Linked DNA regions of Homo sapiens: region 1 is linked to region 2. The links are contacts of gene promoters, found by promoter capture Hi-C in human tissues and cell types (Jung and others, 2019). All regions are on one chromosome and are shown on one strand. Each heading gives the region's core, a stretch centred on a gene start or on the middle of the fragment in contact. The rest is flanking DNA. Distances are from core to core; before and after follow the strand shown. Region 1 overlaps ZHX3 (zinc fingers and homeoboxes 3). Region 2 holds the start of LPIN3 (lipin 3).

Evidence for each region. The method cuts DNA at HindIII sites, captures the fragments that hold promoters and counts their contacts. A contact is called where the count stands out against the background at its distance.
Region 1: a fragment that was not itself captured here is called in contact with the fragment with the promoter of LPIN3 in region 2 in 2 of the 25 tissues and cell types used here (dorsolateral prefrontal cortex and hippocampus).

What each region holds. Positions count from the first base shown.
Region 1 is chr20:41,206,741-41,212,009 of GRCh38, reverse strand. The region is part of intron 2 of ZHX3 (zinc fingers and homeoboxes 3); the gene reads left to right. Among named protein-coding and RNA genes, the nearest start is that of MIR6871, 40 kb to the right of the region's middle. The HindIII fragment of the contact is 5,390 bases long and covers 1-4,242 here.
Region 2 is chr20:41,338,088-41,342,997 of GRCh38, reverse strand. It overlaps LPIN3 (lipin 3), which reads right to left and starts at 2,177. Exons shown (of 20, transcript NM_022896.3): 1 at 1,996-2,177. RefSeq lists a silencer at 2,196-2,355 and an enhancer at 2,516-2,565. The HindIII fragment of the contact is 17,326 bases long and covers 1-4,910 here.

The DNA.
Region 1 (5,269 bases), core at 298-2,797, 130 kb after region 2:
AGATATTCTACTTGATGTCTTCCATAACTTGTCTGAAAATCTGATTTGCTCACTGGGTCCATAACTGTATTATTTTTAGTTTCCCTGATTTGGGATCATAAAGCACTTGATTTAAAATGTTTGCCAATGATATATACAAAGGAGCTTAGAAATGTTGATGCTCTTTGAGATGGTAAGCCCATTCCTGTGCACTTAACCTCAGGAAATAATTTGATAGAAGAAAAACATCCTGTATGCCCAGAGATGTTTGTTTCACTGTCACCCATGAGATTGGCATGCTTTTCAACAGCAGGGGTGGATAAGTCAAATTCATTGTGGTACATTATTAGGTAGCTATTAAATGTTAAACTTATGAAGCTTGTGTAACAAAAAGGTTTATAACGTAATGTTTGGTGAAAAAAGCACAAATGTGTGCTCATTGTGATAAAAATATGAATAAAATATCTGGACTAAATGAGAAGGTATACCAAATTATAGACATTAAATTTATTTAAATTACATTTTATCTTTATAATTAAAAATTAAGTAAAAAAGTGTGCATGCCAGTTCAAATTGGTGGGGGAAGGGGTGAGAAGTTGTTAGAGTGGGTTTATGTTTACCCTCACCTTCAAAGTTTTAAAAATTATTTTCATCATAAAATAGCCGTGTTTATTTACTGAGAATTTGAATAGAGATATTTTAATTTTCTTTACATCTTTGTATCAAATCCAAATACTGATAACTTGATTTTAGTATTAGAATTACTATTGTTTTAGTCATTAGAGCATTATGATTTGCTAAAACGAAAAGTAATAATGATGATTATCATTCTATATTAGTAATAGGGCTCACAGAATCCCTTTTCTCATGGCATCCTGTGAAACAATTATTATTATTATTTCTTTTTGAGTTATCAACTGTTTAATTTCGGTCTTTTATATATAAAACCATTGGTTTTGTTTTCAGGTTAGTTTTCTGCCTTAGCTGTTTTCTTTCTTAGCATTTTAAAAGTGTGAAGTCAATCTATTTTATTAAAAGTTCAATACATCTAAATTCACAGGTAAGGGATGTTATGTAATGTCTGGATAGTGTAATGATTATTTGTTTCTGGTTTCCTCTTCTTTCTTCTTTCCTTTCTTTTAAAAAAATACTTAAAAGCATATGTGAAGATTACTTATAATTCTTTTTTAAATTATACTTTAAGTTTTAGGGTACATGTGCACAACATGCAGGTTTGTTACATAGGTATACATGTGCCATGTTGGTGTGCTGCACTCGTTAACTTGTCATTTACATTAGGTATATCTCCTAATGCTGTCCCTCTCCCCACCCCACGACAGGCCGTGGTGTGTGATGTTCCCCACCCTGTGTCCAAGTATTCTCATTGTTCAGTTCCCACCTATGAGTGAGAACATGTGGTGTTTGGTTTTCTGTCCTTGTGATAGTTTGCTCAGAATGATGGTTTCTAGCTTCATCCATGTCCCTACAAAGGACATGAACTCATCATTTTTTATGGCTGCATAGTATTCCATGGTGTATATGTGCCACATTTTCTTAATCCAGTCTATCATTGATGGACATTTGGGTTGGTTCCAAGTCTTTGCTATTGTGAATAGTGCCGCAATAAACATACGTGTGCATGTGTCTTTATAGCAGCATGATTTATAATCCTTTGGGTATATGCCCAGTAATGGGATGGCTGGGTCAAATGGTATTTCTAGTTCTAGATCCTTGACGAATGGCCACACTGTCTTCCACAATGGTTGAACTAGTTTACAGTCCCACCAACAGTGTAAAAGTGTTCCTATTTCTCCACATCCTCTCCAGCACCTGTTGTTTCCTGACATTTTAATGGTCGCCATTCTAACTGGTGTGAGATGGTATCTCATTGTGATTTTGATTTGCATTTCTCTGATGGCCAGTGATGATGAGCATTTTTTCATGTGTCTTTTGGCTGCATAAATGTCTTCTTTTGAGAAGTGTCTGTTCATATCCTTTGTGCACTTGTTGATGGGGTTCTTTGATGTTTTTCTTGTAAATTTGTTTAAGTGCTTTGTAGATTCTGGATATTAGCCCTTTGTCAGATGGGTAGATTGCAAAAATTTTCTCCCATTCTGTAGGTTGCCTGTTCACTCTGATGGTGGTTTCTTTCGCTTTGCAGAAGCTCTTTAGTTTAATTAGATCCCATTTGTCAATTTTGTCTTTTGTTGCCATTGCTTTTGGTGTTTTAGACATGAAGTCCTTGCCCATGCCTATGTCCTGAATGGTATTGCCTAGGTTTTCTCCTAGGGTTTTTATGGTTTTAGGTCTAACATTTAAGTCTTTAATCCATCTCGAATTAATTTTTGTATAAGGTGTAAGGAAGGGATCCAGTTTCAGCTTTCTGCATATGGCTAGCCAGTTTTCCCAGCACCATTTATTAAATAGGGAATCCTTTCCCCATTTCTTGTTTTTGTCAAGTTTGTCAAAGATCACATGGTTGTAGATGTGTGGTATTATTTCCGAGGGCTCTGTTCTGTTCCATTGGTCTACATCTCTGTTTTGGTACCAGTACCATGCTGTTTTGGTTACTGTAGCCTTGTAGTATAGTATAGTTTGAAGTCAAGTAGCATGATGCCTCCAAGTTTGTTCTTTTGACTTAGGATAGTCTTGGCAATGTGGGCTCTTTTTTTGTTCCATATGACCTTTAAAGTAGTTTTTTCCAATTCTGTGAAGAAAGTCATTGGTAGCTTGATGGGGATGGCATTGAATCTATAAATTACCTTGGGCAGTATGGCCATTTTCACAATATTGATTCTTCCTATCCATGAGCATGGAATGTTCTTCCATTTGTTTGTGTCCTCTTATTTCGTTGAGCACTGGTTTGTAGTTCTCCTTGAAGAGGTCCTTCACATCCCTTGTAAGTTGGATTCCTAGGTATTTTATTCTCTTTGAAGCAATCGTGAATGGGAGTTCACTCATGATTTGGCTCTCTGTTTGTCTGTTATTGGTGTATTGGAATGCTTGTGATTTTTGCACATTGATTTTGTATCCTGAGACTTTGCTGAAGTTGCTTATCAGCTTAAGGAGATTTTAGGCTGAGACGATGGGGTTTTCTAAATATACAATCATGTCATCTGCAAACAGGGACAATTTGACTTGCTCTTTTCCTAATCGAATAACCTTTATTTCTTTCTCCTGCCTGATTGCCCTGGCCAGAACTTCCAACACTATGTTAATAGGAGTGGTGAGAGAGGGCATCCCTGTCTTGTGCCAGTTTTCAAAGGGAATGCTTCCAGTTTTTGCCCATTCAGTATGATATTGGCTGTGGGTTTGTCATAAATAGCTCTTATTATTTTGAGATACGTCCCATCAATACCTAATTTATTGAGAGTTTTTAGCATGAAGGGCTGTTGAATTTTGTCAAAGGCCTTTTCTGCATCTATTGAGATAATCATGTGGTTTTTGTCTTTGGTTCTGTTTATATGATGGATTACATTTATTGATTTGCATATGTTGAACCAGCCTTGCATCCCAGGTATGAAGCCAACTTGGTCGTGGTAGATAAGCTTTTTGATGTGCTGCTGGATTCGATTTGCCAGTATTTTATTGAGGATTTTTGCATCGATGTTCATCAGGGATATTGGTCTAAAATTCTCTTTTTTTGTTGTGTCTCTGCCAGGCTTTGGTATCAGGACGATGTTGGCCTCATAAAATGAATTAGGGAGGATTCCCTCTTTTTCTGTGGATTGGAATAGTTTCAGAAGGAATAGTACCAGCTCCTCTTTGTACCTGTGGTAGATTCAGCTGTGGATCTGTCTGGTCCTGGACTTCTTTTGGTTGGTAGGCTATTGATTATTGCCTTAATTTCAGAACCTGTTATTGGTGTATTCAGGGATTCAACTTCTTCCTGGTTTAGTCTTGGGAGGGTGTATGTGTCCAGGAATTTATCCATTTCTTCTAGATTTTCTAGTTTATTTGCGTAGAGGTATTTATAGTATTCTCTAATGGTAGTTTGTATTTCTATGGGATCGGTGGTGATATCCCCTTTATTGTTTGTTATTGTGTCTATTTGATTCTTCTCTCTTTTCTTCTTTATTAGTCTTGCTAGCTGTCTATCAATTTTGATGTTTTCAAAAAACCAGCTCCTGGATTCATTGATTTTTTGAAGGGTTTTTTGTGTCTCTATCTCCTTCAGTTCTGCTCTGATCTTAGTTATTTCTTGCCTTCTGCTAGCTTTTGAATGTGTTTGTTCTTGCTTCTCTAGTTCTTTTAATTGTGATGTTAGGGTGTCAATTTTAGATATTTCCTGCTTTCTCTTGTGGGCATTTAGTGCTATAAATTTCCCTCTACACACTGCTTTAAATGTGTCCCAGAGATTCTGGTATGTTGTGTCTTTGTTCTCATTGGTTTCAAAGAACATCTTTCTTTGTGCCTTCATTTCGTTATGTACCCAGTAGTCATTCAGGAGCAGGATGTTCAGTTTCCATGTAGTTGAGCGGTTTTGAGTGAGTTTCTTAATCCTGAGTTCTAGTTTGATTGCACTGTGGTCTGAGAGACAGTTTATTATAATTTCTGTTCTTTTACATTTGCTGAGGAGTGCTTTACTTCCAACTATGTGGTCAATTTTGGAGTAAGTGTGCTGTGGTGCTGAGACAAATGTATATTCTGTTCATTTGGGGTGGAGAGTTCTGTAGATGTCAGTTAGGTCTGCTTGGTGCATTTAGCCCATTTACATTTAAGGTTAATATTGTTATGTGTGAATTTGATCCTGTCATTATGATGTTAGCTGGTTATTTTGCTCGTTAGTTGATGCAGTTTCTTTCTAGCATTGATGGTCTTTACAATTTGGCATGTTTTTTGCAGTGGCTGGTACCAGTTGTTCCTTTCCATGTTTAGTGCTTCCTTCAGGAGCTCTTGTAAGGCAGGCCTGGTGGTGACAAAATCTCTCAGCATTTGTTTGTCTGTAAAGGATTTTATTTCTCCTTCACTTATGAAGCTTAGTTTGGCTGGATATGAAATTCTGGATTGAAAGTTCTTTTCTTTAAGAATGTTGAATATCGGCCCCCACTTCTCTTCTGGCTTGTAGAGTTTCTGCCGAGAGATCCGCTGTTATTCTGATGGGCTTCCCTTTGTGGGTAACCCGACCTTTCTCTCTGGCTGCCCTTAACATTTTTTCCTTCATTTCAACTTTGGTGAATCTGACAATTAATGTGTTTTGGAGTTGCTCTTCTCGAGGAGTATCTTTATGTTGTTCTCTGTATTTCTGAATTTTAATGTTGGCCTGCCTTGCTAGGTTGGGGAAGTTCTC
Region 2 (4,910 bases), core at 928-3,427:
AATTGCCCCCAGCTGAGAACCACGATCTAGTAGAAAGGGCCGAATAGCAGAGATGGCACCCGGGGTCCTACTCGGATCCAGCCCTGGAGTATTCTCAGGCAAGTAACTGGCTGGCCTCAGTTTCCCCTTCTGTGAACCAAGGCCTCAGTTTTTTAGACCCATCTCCCTCAGATCTAATGTCACGGGAGTCCAGAATTCTCTCCTCTCTCTGTTCCCCCCACTTCACCAATGGATGTCCCCCACATCTGCCTGCTCGGCATTTTGGGGGCCTTCTGTGAGCCCCCCACATCTGCCTGCTCAGCATTTTGGGGGCTTCCAGTGAGCCCCCCCACATCTGCCTGCTCAGCATTTTGGGGGCCTTCTGTGAGCCCGCCTCTGTCTTCACCTATCCCTTAGGCACCCCCTTTTCCCAGGACCCAGCTCTACCTCCTTGTTCTTTTCCAGACAGAGGAGAGCTCTGCTTGGCTCCCCTCTATCACCCTCCACCCACAAACTAACATGTCTAAAATCAGCCACTTCACTCCTCACACCTTCCCAGGAAGCCGAATACCCCTTAGGACTAGTCACTACCCCTCTCTCCCTCCCTAGCCCTCTGAATCTTCTCCCCCAATTTCCTGCTCATCCAGCCCCTCCTTTCTCCAGCTGTCCTAGGTTAAGACTTTATAACCAGATGCCCAGATCACGGGTGGCCACAGGACATTAGGAGAAAAGGCACCAGATTATCTGGGTGCTGATCCCCACTCCGCCATTTGCTAGCTGTGACCATGGGCAAGTGACTTCATCTCTCTGACCCTCAGTCTCAGCCTCCAAAATGGGAATAACATCAGGCACGTGTGAGTAACTAATGACTTTGTGTAAAGCCCTGGAATGCAATAAAAACCTGTATGTACACCTATCAGCAGCAGCATCATGACAGCCCCACTCATGCAGGCTGGTCCTGTGGGCACTGCAGGTCATACTCTGATGAACTGCCCCTGCCAGCAGTTGAGAGTTTGGACTTCTTTTATTTATTTATTTTTTTGAGATGGAGTCTTGCCCTGTCACCCAGACTGGAGTGCGGTGGCATGATTTTGGCTCACTGCAAGCTCCGCCTGCTGGGTTCAAGCAATTCTCCTGCCTCAGCCTCCCGAGTAGCTGGGACTACAGGCGTGTGCCACCACACCCGGCTAATTTTTTGTATTTTTAGTGGAGACGGGGTTTCACCGTGTTAGGATGGTCTCGATCTCCTGACCTCATGATCCACCCGCCTCAGTCTCCAAAGTGCTGGGATTACAGGCGTGAGCCACCGCGCCCAGCGGAGTTTGGACTTCTTAACTTGGCACTCAAGGCCATGCACAATGGTGGCACCACTATTTGCAAAACGAGCATGTGCACTCCACGTAGGCCTCACACCCCACCTTGGGGATGTTCACAGGCCTTCCAGGCTAGACTACAACTCTAGCACAGGGAAGCCAGAGCAAGCTGCCCTAGGACTAGGCTCTCAGCCCTCGGGGCTCCCAGGTTTGGGTGGATGAAGGGTGTGGCTCTCCACCGAGGACCAGAGGGAGCAGGAGAGTAAGCACTCCTAGTGCCCCAGTAGAGAGAAAGCGCCACCCCAGCCCCCAGCAGCTACAGCATCTGATCTGCCCAGTCTCAGGGCAAGCAGGGCAAGGGCCAGTCACTGTTTTGCAACTGAGGACACTGGGTACCAGAGAAAGTGGCTGTCCTCCTCAAGGTCACACAGTCAGGCTGGGGTAAAGCTGGGCCAGCCTCCCCTGGGAGGTTTCGACGTCTCCTCTCCAGACTCTACGTTCTGGGTGTCCAGGGGGCCTGCAGCCGCTGGGCCAGGGAAAAAGGGACAAAATGAGGCCAGTCCCTCCACCCCTGCGTCCCCATCTTACAGCTAGGGGTGGACCCAGGCCCGCGGACAGGAAGGAAGGAATGTAGGATGGCAGGACAGATGGGCAGGGCGGGAGGGGAGAGGGTCATCTCTTCTCCCCCCGAGTTGGGCCCTACCTGGGGAGCTGCCCACTGGAGCTCCTGGACTCAGAGCCGCCGCCTCTACCTACGTGCACAGGCTCCACAGGTGAGTGTCTTCGGCCCTCAGTCACTTGGCGCTTCCGGGTCCTCTAAGACAGGGTGAGAGCACGGCTCCACTCCTTCTACGATCCTAGTGCGGCCTCCACAGGCCCCAATCTGCCCAGGCTCCACTCCCTGGAAAGACCCCGCCCCTGCTCCGATCCCCGCCCAGGGCGCCCTTTGGCCTCGGAGGCGGGGGCGGGGCCAGACTTCATGCCCCGCCCACCAGACCCCGCCCCAAGTCCCTGTGCCACCGCCTGCCCCACCTCCAGAAAAGTGTGGATTTCGGAACGGGGCGGACCTAGCTCCTCCCAGATTTGCTTCCAGCTTGCTGTGTGATCTTGGGTGAATTCCTTCCTCAATTTGATCCCATTTCCTGTTTTGTCAAGGGGGAAAGCCGCCTTGCAGGATTTTAGAGATGACATGAAATGACTTTGCGCGGCTCCTGGCGCTCAAACGTCCCCTCCTGGGGGCAGCTTTTCCTGAACCCACCCGTATCTCCCAGACTGGACAGGCCCCTCGCGTCATCTGTTCGCATAGCCCACAGTTGTAATTTCATATTTGCTTGAATGACTACTTGATTAATGTATATCTCTTCATTTAAATTTGAACTCTGAGAGCAGGTCACGTACATCCTTACACTCCAGCGCTTATCAGTACCTCGCCTGACAAACAGCAGGCGCTCCATAAATGCCCGCACCTTCATTCCATCCCTGGGACGTTCTGGTCGAGCGGCAGCGGGCTCAATACTGACACTGGCCAGCAGGGGGCAGGCGGTGATCAGCCTTCTGGCCCAGCCGCGCTCCCTCCCTGTCTGCAGGCACTGCGGGAGGGGACAGGTGAGCCCAGGTGCGCCGAGGCACGCGGAAGGTGCATTTACTCTCGTGCCTTGGGCAAGGCCCGGGCCGGGAACGGCTTTTTCCTCTTGGATCTGTGGCTCGCGGCTTTCCTGGACCAAAGACCTTTCCGACGCCCTATGGCCCCTGCAAAGAAGCTGCCCTGAGAAGGGCCTGGAGATGAAGTAATTTGTTCTAAAAGAGAGAGGGCACCGAGGAAAGGCTTGGCGGAGCAGCAACGGCGACGAGCCAGGCTTAGAAACGACTGGGCGGTGAGGAGGAGAGGTAGCTGCCATTATTCTGACTCAGGGTGACAGAACCTGTTTGGAAGTGACTGGCCTCAGTTGTCCTCATTTTGGCAGAAGTCATTTAGTATCAGTCCTGATCCCAGGTAGTGTCTGGCTGCTATCTCAGAAGAGCCCTGTTGGGAGCAGAGCTATGTCAAGGTGGCCAGGAGGGCAGCGTCATACATACCATTTTCTGTAACATCAGGAAATCCCTGAAGGGAGCCCGAGAAGGAAGGAAGGAGAGGTCACAGGTTGGGGCTACAGATGCCGAAATCAATTTACCTCTTTGAGCCTCAATTTCATCGGCAAAGGTGGTGATAAAAGCTACCTTGCAGGATTCTATTGTGAGGATTTACAGGATGAATTAAATAAGTGGTTCTCAACCTTGACTGTGTGTTAGAATCACTGTGCCCTAGACGAATACTGATGCCCCGGATACTGGGAGTTTAAAAACCTCTCCAGTTGGTTGTAATGTACAAACAAGGCTGAGAACTGCTGATCCAAATTAAATGCAGAGCACAGCGCCAGGGCACACACTAGGCATTCAGGAATGTTTATCACATATTTATTTTTATTTAAAAAATTTTTGTGTCACACATTTTTAAAGATGGAGCACAAATTGTTTTCATTGTTCATTGTTAGAGGAAAAAAAGTTGATATAAAGGTTGTTGCAGAAATTGCATTTGCGGCTGGGGTGAGGTGGCTTACGCCTGCAATCCCAGCACTTTGGGAGGCAGAGGTGGGCGGATCGTCTGAGGTCAGGAGTTGGAGACCAGCCTGGCCAACACGGTGAAACCCCATCTCTGTTTTTTTGTTTTTGTTTTTGTTTTGAGATGAAGTCTCGCTCTGTCACTCAGGCTGGAGTGCAGTGGCACCATCTCTGCTCACTGCAAGCTCCACTTTCCGGGTTCACGCCATTCTCCTGCCTCAGCCTCCTGAGTAGCTGGGACTACAGGGGCCCATCCCCATGCCCAGCTAATTTTTTGTATTTTTAGTAGAGACAGGGTTTCACTGTGTTAGCCAGGATGGTCTCGATCTCCTGACCTCGTGATCCACCCACCTCAGCCTCCCAAAGTGTTGGGATTACAGGCGTTAGCCACTGCGCTCGGTCCCCCGTCTCTATTAAAAATACAAAAAAAAAAAAAATTAGCCAGGCATGGTGGTGCACAGCTGTAGTCTCAGCTACTCAGGAGGCTGAGGCAGGAGAATCACTTGAACCGAGGAGGTGGAGGTTGCAGTGAGCTGAGATGGCGCCTCTGTACTCCACCCTGGGTGACAGAGCAAGACATTGTCTCAAAAAAAAAAAAAAAGAAAAAGAAAAATTGCATTTCTGACAGGCTCGTTTCTGGAACTCTCAATCATCTGGGATTTGGTGATGAGGGTAGGAGAAGAAAGGCAGATAGAACAGCCTCTGCTAGTATGACTTGTTCTAACACTGAATGGAACTGAATAAGGCAGAGACTGTCCCACTCTAGCTTGTGGTTGACATCACCATCTCCAGGGCTTTCTCTGAGGGTGCAAGCAGCATGGACACTTGTGTTTGCCCATTTCTGGGGTTGAAGGTGGAGGCCATTTTTTCCTCTGCTTGGGTATACTCATCGGATGAGCCTATATCACTGGCAGCTGTTTGTTTCTTCATTAATCCAAGAATGCAGGTGGTACTTCCTTCTTTACAGAATTTGGTAGCTTATGTGTTTTATTGTTTTTTTGTTTTGTTTTAGACAGGGTC